Linked DNA regions of Homo sapiens: region 2 is linked to region 1. The links are contacts of gene promoters, found by promoter capture Hi-C in human tissues and cell types (Jung and others, 2019). All regions are on one chromosome and are shown on one strand. Each heading gives the region's core, a stretch centred on a gene start or on the middle of the fragment in contact. The rest is flanking DNA. Distances are from core to core; before and after follow the strand shown.

Evidence for each region. The method cuts DNA at HindIII sites, captures the fragments that hold promoters and counts their contacts. A contact is called where the count stands out against the background at its distance.
Region 2: a contact is called between a fragment that was not itself captured here and the fragment with the promoter of VSTM2L in region 1, in 3 of the 25 tissues and cell types used here (IMR-90 fibroblasts, bladder and neural progenitor cells).

What each region holds. Positions count from the first base shown.
Region 1 is chr20:37,899,995-37,905,349 of GRCh38, reverse strand. VSTM2L (V-set and transmembrane domain containing 2 like) reads right to left here and starts at 2,223. Exons shown (of 4, transcript NM_080607.3): 1 at 1,879-2,223. The coding sequence starts at 1,999. The region is part of intron 2 of LOC124904896 (a long non-coding RNA gene); the gene reads left to right. RefSeq lists an enhancer at 1,960-2,923. The HindIII fragment of the contact is 19,122 bases long and covers 1-5,355 here.
Region 2 is chr20:37,778,773-37,784,127 of GRCh38, reverse strand. CTNNBL1 (catenin beta like 1) reads right to left here. Exons shown (of 16, transcript NM_030877.5): 10 at 4,793-4,941. Among named protein-coding and RNA genes, the nearest start is that of CTNNBL1, 87 kb to the right of the region's middle. The HindIII fragment of the contact is 4,926 bases long and covers 728-5,355 here.

The DNA.
Region 1 (5,355 bases), core at 974-3,473:
CACCCAAGTCCCTGGGGTCTGGTGCTCTAGGGACAGAACGACCATAAGCCTCAGAGTCCCATTCCTCATACCCCTCGGGACTGCAAACTCAGGGAAGGCCCTCCATGGAAACCCCTCCTAGTGTAAGTTCCAACTGTGCCAAGGGACTGAGCGGAGCGAGGAGAGGAGGGGTGGAGAGGGAGGAATTCCCAGTTTCCCTAGAATGGGAGGGAATCTGACAGGGAGATGAATGTCCTGGAAAAAAGCGCTGTCTTTGCCTGACAGACCCTGGGGCCTGTCCTGGCTCAGTCACTCTCTTACTGTGTGACCTTGGGCAACTTCCTTCACCTCTCTGAGCCTTGGTTTCCCTATCTGTAAGTTGAGGATCAAAAGAACCCTTTCCTTATTTACCACCGCTCTAGCCAGGTCGGTAGAAATGAGGTGAGGGGCATGAAGGGTATGTAAATGATGCACACAGCAGTTACTACCAAACATGGTGAGGCAGAAGGGGGCGGGGAGTCATGGTTCCCAAAAAGCAGAGACCCTGAGGATGGCTTCGAAGCCCCCCTCTCCACTGGAGCAATCCCACTCATGTGTCATACCCCAGCAAAACCTTCCCTGATTATCTACCCTGCCTTACCCCCACTCACTCCCATCAGAATAAATCATCCAATTATCTGGCCTTTGTGCAAACCTCCCCACAGCCCTGGGCCCACAGTGCCCAGCACTGGGGCTGCAGCCTCCCCAACAAGGCTGTCAGCCTGTCTAGTGAAGGGCTGCATGGAAGAAAGGTCTCCTTTGGTTTCATCTATGCTCGAGCCTCCATCCCAGAGCCAGGCTCACAGGGGTCAGGGGGAGCCCCCACAGCTGCCGGGCTCATACAGTCCAACTCTGCTGCCAACTTGGGCTCCTTCGGGGCTAGCAGGAGCTTCTGACACTCAGCCAGCCAGTGCTGGGAATGCTTGTCTGCTCCCCGGCTTCCACAGCGGCTGGAGTTGAGATTTCCCACATTTCAGTCCTCTAGGGCCGAGGATGAGGATGGGGGTACCCTATGGAAGGATGGCACGGCTTCCTGCCCATCCCCAGAGGCAGACAAAAGCACCCGGCATTCCACTTCCACTCCCACTCCCATGCCTCTGGCTGCAAGCAGCAACCCCAACTACTCCGGTGGCTCTGAGGGGCTTCCACCAGGTGCCACCCGCCCAACTGGGAGGCTGCAGCCCCAGGCGACCAGTTCTCAAGAAACAAGGTCTTCTGCCCCCAAGGACCTTTCCAGTGGTATAGGGCTGGGTGTGGAGAGGAAGAGGACAAGGGCCTCTGTGCGGTTAAACCCAGAAGAGTAAAGGCAGATGGGCAGAGAGGAGTGGGTGAGCAAATTGTGTTCATGTGTGTGTATGTGTGTGCCTGTGTGTGTGTGCGCGCGCGCGCACCAGTGTGTCTGCAGGTGGGCAGGCAAGAGTTGTGGCGAAGCGTGTGCGCCAGCTGGCAGAGTGAGCCCACCGGCGCAGTGCCTGATGTGCGTGTGTAGTGGGCATAAGTGTAAAGGCTTGCAGTGAGGAGGGGGACCTGAGGTGTGTGGAGATGTGCAGGGTAGGAGTTGTGAGTGTGAGAAAGCAGCGACTGTGGCTCTGAGTGTGTCCGCGGCTGTGCATATCGGTGTGGCCATGCAGGTGTGCGTATCCGCGCGAGTGTGTGGGGAGGAGGTTCGGGGGTGCGCCCCGGGTGCCCCCTTCTCTGCAGGGCCAGGGTGCCAGGGCGGGTCCACCGCGCCGGCAGGGGGCGCCCCGGGATGCCCGCCACGACTGGCGCCGGTTCGAGCCCCGGGGCGGCCAAGTTGGAGTGGCGCGGCCCGGGTTGGGGTTTGGTGGGGAAGTCCGCGGGGGCGGCGACCGAACTCACCGTGGCCGGAGACGTGGTTGTCCCAGGGCGCGTGGCCGGCGGGCCGCGTGGCGCCGCCGAGTTGCAGGAAAAGTGCCAGGTAGTGGAGGGCGCCCAGCGCTACGGCGAGCGGGGCCCCCATCGTGCGCTCTCGGGCCGGGGGCGCCGCCGCCTCACATCTGGGCCCCGGAGACCGCAGAACCGGCGCCAGCTGTCCCCTGCCCTGAGCGGCCTGGCTGCCCGGCTCCGGCAGCTGCCCCTCGCCCGCTGTCCCCGGACCCGGCCCAGCTCCCAGCCCTCGCCCGGCTCCGGCCCAGCCCCGGCTTCGGGGAGCGAGCGCACGCCCAGCCGGCCGCCTCCGACTGCGGGACTCTTCCCTTCCGCGGAAGGCCACGCCGCGCCGCCGCCGCACCCTCCTCCCTCCTCCCGCCTCCCTCCTCCCCTCCCTCCTCCCCTCCCTCCTCCCGCTCGGAGCAGGCGGCGGAGGGATCTGCCGCTTGATTTATCATCAAAGTTTTGCCCAGGCTGGGATTTTTAAAGCGGTACCCGCAACTTTCCCCCGCCCGAGTGCGGAGGCGGGGCCGGGATGGGGCGGAGAGAGCCACCCCAGGGACGCGGTTCCCGCAAAGCACGACCCAACGGGCTTCAGCCACAGAAATGCCGTCCAGCGGGGAGAGGGAGAAAAGCCAGGGCACCCGCCGCCAGGCCAGCGCACTCAGAGGCTCCTAACTTTACCGGCAGGGCGGGGCCGGGGTCAGGGGCCAGTGGGGCTGGGGGTGAGGGCGAGGTAGGGTGGGAGCCTGGGCTGAGACCCAGGGGACCTGGTGATAGCTCTGCCGCCGACCTCGGCTCGCTGTGTGATCGCGTCCGGGTGTCTACCCCTCTCTGAACCTCGAAGTCTTCATCTGAGAAATAGGGGTAATAGCTGTCTGCGGGGGTCCTGGTGAGGATTTGCGAAATCGTGCATGCAAAGCGCTTAGCATAATGCTGCCTACGTGGTAGGAGCTCAGTAGTTATTATTGTCGGTGTTCCCCTTTCTGGGACTCAGTTTTCGAGTCTTTGTAATGGGAGAGAGACAGGCCAGTTAGTTGTTGCGGCTCCTGGCTCTTGAAGATACTGGACCTTATGTGGTGGATGGGATCGCCCCCTTCTGGACTGTAGGCTCCTTCCCTAGACCAATGAGCCTTGATGGTGTGTGTGTGCATGAGTGTGTGTGTGCGTGTGCGTGTGCGCGCGCGTATGCGTGGGTGTATGTGTGTGTGAGTGTGGCAGGGGAGGGGGATAGGGCACCATTCCCATTCCCAAGAGCAAGAATCCAACAAAGTCCTCCAGTTCCTTCCCAAGCCGTGTTACTGGGGCTGATGGGACAGACAGGAGGGCGGAACTGTGGTCCCATTTAAAAGATAAGGAAGCGCCTGAAATCAGGTAATTAGCTTCTCTGAGGTCCCACGGCGAGTCGGGCGAGGCCCCTGACTCCTGGGCGGGGTCCCTCCTGCTCTCATCCCTTGCCCTTCCCCAGGCCTCCCTGCTCACACAGCCTGGTCCTCCCGGTTTCAGCACCACGGAGGAGGACAGCGCCAGCCCCCCCCCCGCCCCCCGCCCCCCGCCCCACCCGGGCCCATCCTTTGGGCACCGTGGACAGCGTCTCAACTGGCCCTTTGATGCTAGGGTTCACACCGTGGACAGACCCTCAGACTTTCTTCCCCGTCCCCGTCGAACAGGGTCAACCCCTCCGACAGCCCACTCCCCACTCCAGAACACAGGTGGATCCCGCGTCCAGCCGTGTGTACAGCGCCCAAGTTTGAGAACAAGGTTAGAGACCAAGGAACATAGCCCCTCGCCGTCTTCCCTCTGTCTTAGCGCCCCCCTTCCAGTATTATGGGGGGGGGGTAGCACACCGGATGGGGCCCGTGGTAGCCAGCAACAATCCAGCTCCTTCCAAACTAAGGACACCTCCTCCACGATGTCCCGCACTTACAAGCACTGTGTTCTAGCACCGTCCACAGCCCCCGCGCTCCCTTCAGTACCGAGGACAGGTCCCAAGCGTCGACCGCTTCCCCCACCCCCCGAACCTTCTGGACCACATGCCTTGGAGGAAGGGGCCGTGTTTGCCTGATTCTCTCACTTCTCACTTTCTTCCCACACAGAGGTGGTGTTTAGGTTATCCTGGGCTGGCCAGGCGTCTTGGACTCTATGCACGTGTTTTCTCATTCATTAACTACCCTGAACCCCGCTCCCAGCGAAATGAACTACTGCTTCCATCATAAAGATATGGAAACTGAGAATCCTCCAGATCACATAGCAGCCACCATGTTAGCCAGACTAAAACCCAGGACTCCTTCAACCCCAGCCTGAGGCCTCACCAGGAGACTGTGGTGACAGAACTGGGACTCAAACCCGGGCTTTCTCCTCTTAAACCACAGATTGGAGGGAGCAGACACAGGCAAGGGGACAGGGAGGGAGAGGAGATTAAAGAGGAGTAAACAAGAGATTGCTCAGGCCTGCAGAGGAAGGGGGTCTGGCGGGATGGCAGCACATTGCTGCTGTGCCCCTAGCCCACCGGCTGACCTTCAGAAATCTTTTCTCTTTGAAGCCTGGAACAAGGTCAAGGTTCCTTCAAGGACAGACATCCAGGGATTGTATGCCTTTGAAAATGCTCGTGATCGGCCAGGTGTGGTGGCTCACGCCTGTAATGCCAGCACTTTGAGAGGCCGAGGTGGGCATATCACGAGGTCAGGAGTTCGAGACCAGCCTGACCAACATGGTGAAATCCCATCTCTACTAAAAATACAAAAATTAGCCAGGAGTGGTGGTGGGCACCTGTAATCCCAGCTACTCAGGAGGCTGAGGCAGGAGAATCGCTTGAACCTGGGAGGCGGAGTTTTCAGTGAGCCAAGATCACACCATTGTACTCCAGCCTGGGTGACAGAGTGAGACTTCATCTCAAAAAAAAAAGGAAAAAAGAAGAAAATGCTCATGATATAATGGTTCTGCTAAAAAAACCCTCTGATGGCCTGTTTATGTGAGAAATCCTGACTTCTCTAGTTTGCATTCAGGGTCCCAGACTCACCTCCTGCACATATCCTGTGCTCTCTTGGGCATGCCTTGGCCTCATTACATCTTCAACCTTCCCAGTGCTTCCCCTGTGCTTGTATGCCTTCCCCTCTGTCTAGCTGAGTCCCCAGTTGGGCGAGGTCCAGCCTGAGTCCCCATGGGAAGAAATGCCTGCTGCCTTCTCCCAGTCCCCAAGCCTCTGTTGGCTCATCACTGTATGCCCAGCATGGCCCTAAGAACTTTCATTATTCCCCTTAATCCTCAGAACCACCAGGCCAGGTAGGGTAGGATGGTGTGGTTAGAAGTGTGGGCTCTAGAGCCATATTCTCTGTTTTGAATCCTGCCATTTGGTAGCTGTGTAAACTTAGACAAGTTGCTTAGCCTCCCTGTGCCTCAATTTTCTCGTCTGTAAAACAAGGGTAATAATACCTCCTTCACAGCAGG
Region 2 (5,355 bases), core at 1,941-4,440, 120 kb after region 1:
AAATTAGACCAAGAGACAAAGAAGGTCATTACATAACGGTAAAGGGACCCATTCAGCAAAAGAATATAACAATTATAAATATATATGCACCCAACACTGGAGCACCCAGATAGATAAAGCAAATATTATTAGAGCTAAAGGGAGAGACAGATCCCAATAAAAGCTGGAGACTTCAACACCCCACTTTCAGCACTGGATCAAACATCCAGACAGAAAATCAACAAACATCAAACTTCATCTGCAGTATAGACTAAATGGACTTAATAGATAGTGACAAACCATATCATCCAAAAGCTGCAGAATACACATTCTTCTCCTTAGCACATGGGTCATTCTCAAGAATAGTTCATGTGTTAGGCCACAAAACAATTCTTTAAAAATACAAGAAAACTGAAATTCTGTCAAGTATCTTCTCTGATCACAATGGAAAAAAACTAGAAATCAATAACAAGAGGAATTCCAGAAACTATTCAAACAGAAATTAAACAATATGCTCTTGAATAACCAGTGGGCCAATGAAGAAATTAAGAAAGAAATTAAAACAGTCTGAAGCAAATGAAAATGGAAACACAACATACCAAAATTTATGGGATACAACAAAAGCAGTATTAAGAGGAAAGTTCATAGCAATAAGCACCTACAACAAAAAAGTAGAAAAACTTCAAATACACAACCTAACAATACATCTTAAAGAATTAGAAAAGTAAGAGCCAACCAAACCCATAATTAGTAGACGAAGAGAAATAATAAAGATCAGAGCAGAAATAAATGAAACAAACAAAAAAAGATAAAAAAGATCAACAAAATTAAAAGTTAGGTTTCAAAAGATAAACAAAATCAATAAACCTTTAGCCAGATTAAGAAAAAAAGAGAGAGGATCAAATAAATAAAAACCGGAAATGAAAAAGGAGGCATTTGGCCAGGTGCAATGGCTCACACATGTAATTCCAGCACTTTGGGAGGCCAAGAAAGGTGGATAGCTTGAGCTCAGGAGTTCAAGATCAGCCTGGGCAACATGGTGAAATCCTGTCTCTGCCAAAAATATTTTTAAAAAATTAGCCAGGCCTGGCGGCATGCAAGGGAACCTTTGGGAGTGATAAAAAGAATCTGTATATACATCATCCTATATGGTAGACACTGTGTAGCTACTGAGCATCTGAAATGTGGCTATTGTAACTGAGAAACTAAATTTTAAATATAATTTAAATAAATTTAAGTTTAAAATTTAAAAATTGATACTGGACTTATTGGAAAACATTTAAGTATCTTTGGACAAACTTAAGTATGAGAATCTATGTTTTCAACTCTAAATTTTATGAAATCTAAATACAAATCAAGCATTCTGATGAAAATTTAGCATCTGAATTGGGATGTAAATGTAAAATGTTCACTGGATTTTGAAAACTTAGTCTCAAAAAATGAATGTGAAATGGCTTACTAATAATTTTGTCATATTGATTACATGTTGAAATAATTTTTGACTTACTATGTTAAATAAAATACATTATTAAAATTATTTTTGTTTCTTTTAACCCTTTAAATGTGGTAGCTACTACAAAATGTAAAATTACCTATCTCACATTACATTTCGACTGGATAGTGCTGTTCTACATCTTCACTGTGGTGGTGGAAACATCTGTCAAAACTGTACACTTAAAATGCGTACATTTTACTGTATAAAAATTATGCCTCAATAAAGTAGACAAAAATATTAAATTGGTAGTGAATATATGCTTGTGTGTGTGTGCACATATGTGTGGGAAGGAGGGAGTATGTATCAATGAGTATCTTGTTTGTGATCTTTCTTCATCAATAATCAGAAAGGAAAAAAATTCACTGAGTATATATACATGCAAAAGTAACTGTTCTCCTGAAGCGTCATCATATTAAATTATATTATAGTTATTTAATGTGTGCATCCCTCACTAGCCTTTGAGCTTCTTGGAGGCAGGAACCCTGTTTTGTTCATCTCTGTATAAACCTAGCACTTAACGTAGAAAGTTAACATAGTACCTTAGCAGTGTTTTGCAACTGTAGAATTCTCCTAGATACTTTATATAGTTTAATTCTGCCAAAATACCTGTAAATTTGGTATTATTAGTGCCGGTTTTCAGATGAAAAACTGAGGGTGAGAAGGTCACAAAGGTTAAAGTAACTCACCAAATATCCAGAGCTAGTAAGTAAAAGAGCATGTTCCAAACCCACACTTACAAGTCCCAGGCCCATTCTTCCACCCTGCTCCATACTGCCACCTCTCCATGTGGGCATTTCACAACTGTCTGATGAATGACTGAGTCAAAGTAAAGATCTATATTTAGGGGCAATGGAACCACAGAAACTTTCCTGAACTTCTAGTGTTACAGCTTCATAGTCTTGAATAGGCTCTCTCTAGACAAAGAGCCACCTGGCAGCTCTTACTAGAAGATCAGAAAGGGTGACTATAGTATGGAAAAAAAATTCCATCCCAATTAAACTTTCCATTTGGGAGTCTGAAGAAAAATAACACAGAACAAAGAGTATGGGAATGAGAAAAAAGGAAATGCTGAATCTGCTAATATAGCTAATTAATGCCAAAGAATGAATGTAACAGCAACTTCAGCATTCAAAAATGAAGTTAGGAGATCTAGAGAGGTACAGTTTCTAAGTTTTTTGGAGCTCTCCTTTAATTAGCCTCCCTGAATCTCAGCATTCCTGTTTGAATAATCCATATTTCTGGTTATTTATTCAGCTCCCCTCTGCTATGCAATACCTAGCCATATGCTGCAGAAATATATCACTTCATATTTGCACTCAACCAACCAAAGACACTGGCAATTCAGACCTTTAAGAAGCTTAAGGAAAAGTCCCTTCAGAACATTGTGTTAAGGTTAGAAGATCCAAGAAGCCAAATGTATCTTCTATTTATGCTATTTACTTGAGAGAAGGTGGGTCATTTCAACAAAAGGACAAGCAATTAGAAGGGTAAGGGAGATAAACAAAAGACTCAAGAGAGTAAAGCTAGCAAAAATCAGCTAAACACAAAAGGCCTCTGAGTAATTTCTCATGCTCCTCTCTGCATTTTTTTAAAAATTGTTTTTAAAAGCAATTCCTCAAAGGAAGACTTTTGGTCAATGCAAGGTCTGGTACACACTGGACAAATGAAGAGGTCTACTGTGCCTCCAGCCCCCCAGAAGCCTTTTAAAGATAATATATTTTAGAAATATACACAGTAAGTCATCACTTAACATCATAGATAGACTTGGAAATGGCAACTTTAAGTAAAACGGGATATAGGAGGTCAGATCCTCAAATAACACCGTTATAACAATGATCAGAAAAACTGGTTTCATTATACATCATTTCGCTTAAAGTTATGGTTTCCAAGAATGTTACTGATGATGTTAAGTGAGGACTTACTGTACCTGGATAATCCTAACATCATTTTAAACACAAAAATGGTCACTGTAGAATTTGTTATAACGGCAAAACATTGGAAATATCCTCAATGCCAACAACAGAAGAATACTAAGTAAGCTACAGTCCCTTAGAGGCCATGATGCAGTTACTGAAAACTCTCATGAAGATTATTCACAGCATGGGAAACAGCATCTTATGTCTGAAATGTAGCAATACAGAAAATCCTATGTGTGGCAGGCTTAAAAAGTTGTTAAAAATTATAGAAAAAAAGACTAGAAGAAAATATACACCCAAAGACAGGCTGTGTTTAGCTCACAGAACTGTTTTCCTAACTTTGTGGAGACAGAAATTCTGTCTTAGGTATTTCTGTGTATGCCCAGTACTTAACATAGTACCTTGTCAATGTTTTAATAGCAGTTTTATATGTTAGTATTCTAAATTCTATTTAACAAATATATATCACATTTATGAAAAACCTTTCCAAAGAAATATCTTAGTTCAACAGAACTTTCAGTATACTTGAAGTTTTAAGACAGCAGACTCTGGCTCCATTTCTTTTTTTCTTGTTTTTTTTTTTTTTAAATCTCAACTTGCTCCTCTGTAGGGCACAATTCATAATGACTAGAATCTTCCAACCACATAAACATGCTCGATTTTTTTTTTTAAGTCCCTTGACCCTATACCACAGTCTGGTTATCCCCTCAGCCTTCCCCCACACACTTCTCTACTCCCCTTCCTAGACAGGGTCTCAAGAGTTATCAACATAAGCTTCCTCTCCCCTTTTTGCTTCTAACTTTAGGATTCTATAAAATAACTGTGAAACTAATATAAGATCCACTTTCAGGAATTAGCGTATAAATAATAAGACACACAAGGAAAGTACTATAAATAAAAGTTTCTAGAACTGTCTTGCACGTTTTCATATTTCCTAAGCTAGGCATACAGCACATGTACAACTCATTACTGAATGAGGAGTGAAAAATATGAATGATACGCTGCTTTCAATAAAAATACAAACATATGGCATAGATAGGTCTATGTGATATATACAGAAAATTAGTCCAAGTTTAGAAGTAATGGCTAGATTTCCCCAAAACTAACACACTATGGGAAGGAGAGGAAAAACACCAATGTCCTTCAATGGAGTGGACGTATTAGCAACCACCACAGTAGGGCACAAACAGAACACAATATACTTTTTATTCATCTACTCTAACTTTAGGAAAGACCACATACCTATACAAACACATCCCCCCATGCCTGAAGACTTTACTCTTCAGGGTAAAGTCTAGGAAACCCAACAGAATAAATGATCATAGCTACATGCTCTTGAATTCAGGCTAACAGTGAAAAGTCAGGCAAAAAAGGTGGGAGAACTAGGGCATTCGAAACATACCTGAGCATGAGATTCATCAGCTGAAGACCCTCGCCCTTCAGGAAGCGCTCACGATTGGAACTAAGCATTAGACAGGAGCAGAGGGAATCAAACAGATTCTCCATCATCTCCTGCTCCTCAGCCGTGCTGGGATTGTGTCTTTTAAACACCTGTCAAGCAAAAACAGCACAAAGCACAGAGCTATAAGAGAATGTCTTTTCATGAGCCTCCATCCAACAATTCCTAAAACCTGTGGGTCATAACTCTACGACTGAGGAAACAGAAGCTCACCAAACAAAATTCTCATCAGTTTCCATTTTAGAGAAACTAAATGATTCACATATATTAAATACATGCAAAAAAAAAAGCCAAAACACTCTACTGACCACTGGGTCCATCAGTAATTGACAGTTCCAGGCAAGCAGATTTTTTTAAAAACCAAAACCCAATAAAAAACAAAATCTTTTTATCGTGAAATATAACACAGATACAGAAAAACTCCATAAAGGACATATAAAACTAAATGAAGTGAACACCCCTGAAATCATTATCCAGGATGAGAAACAACTTTGCCAACTCCCCTC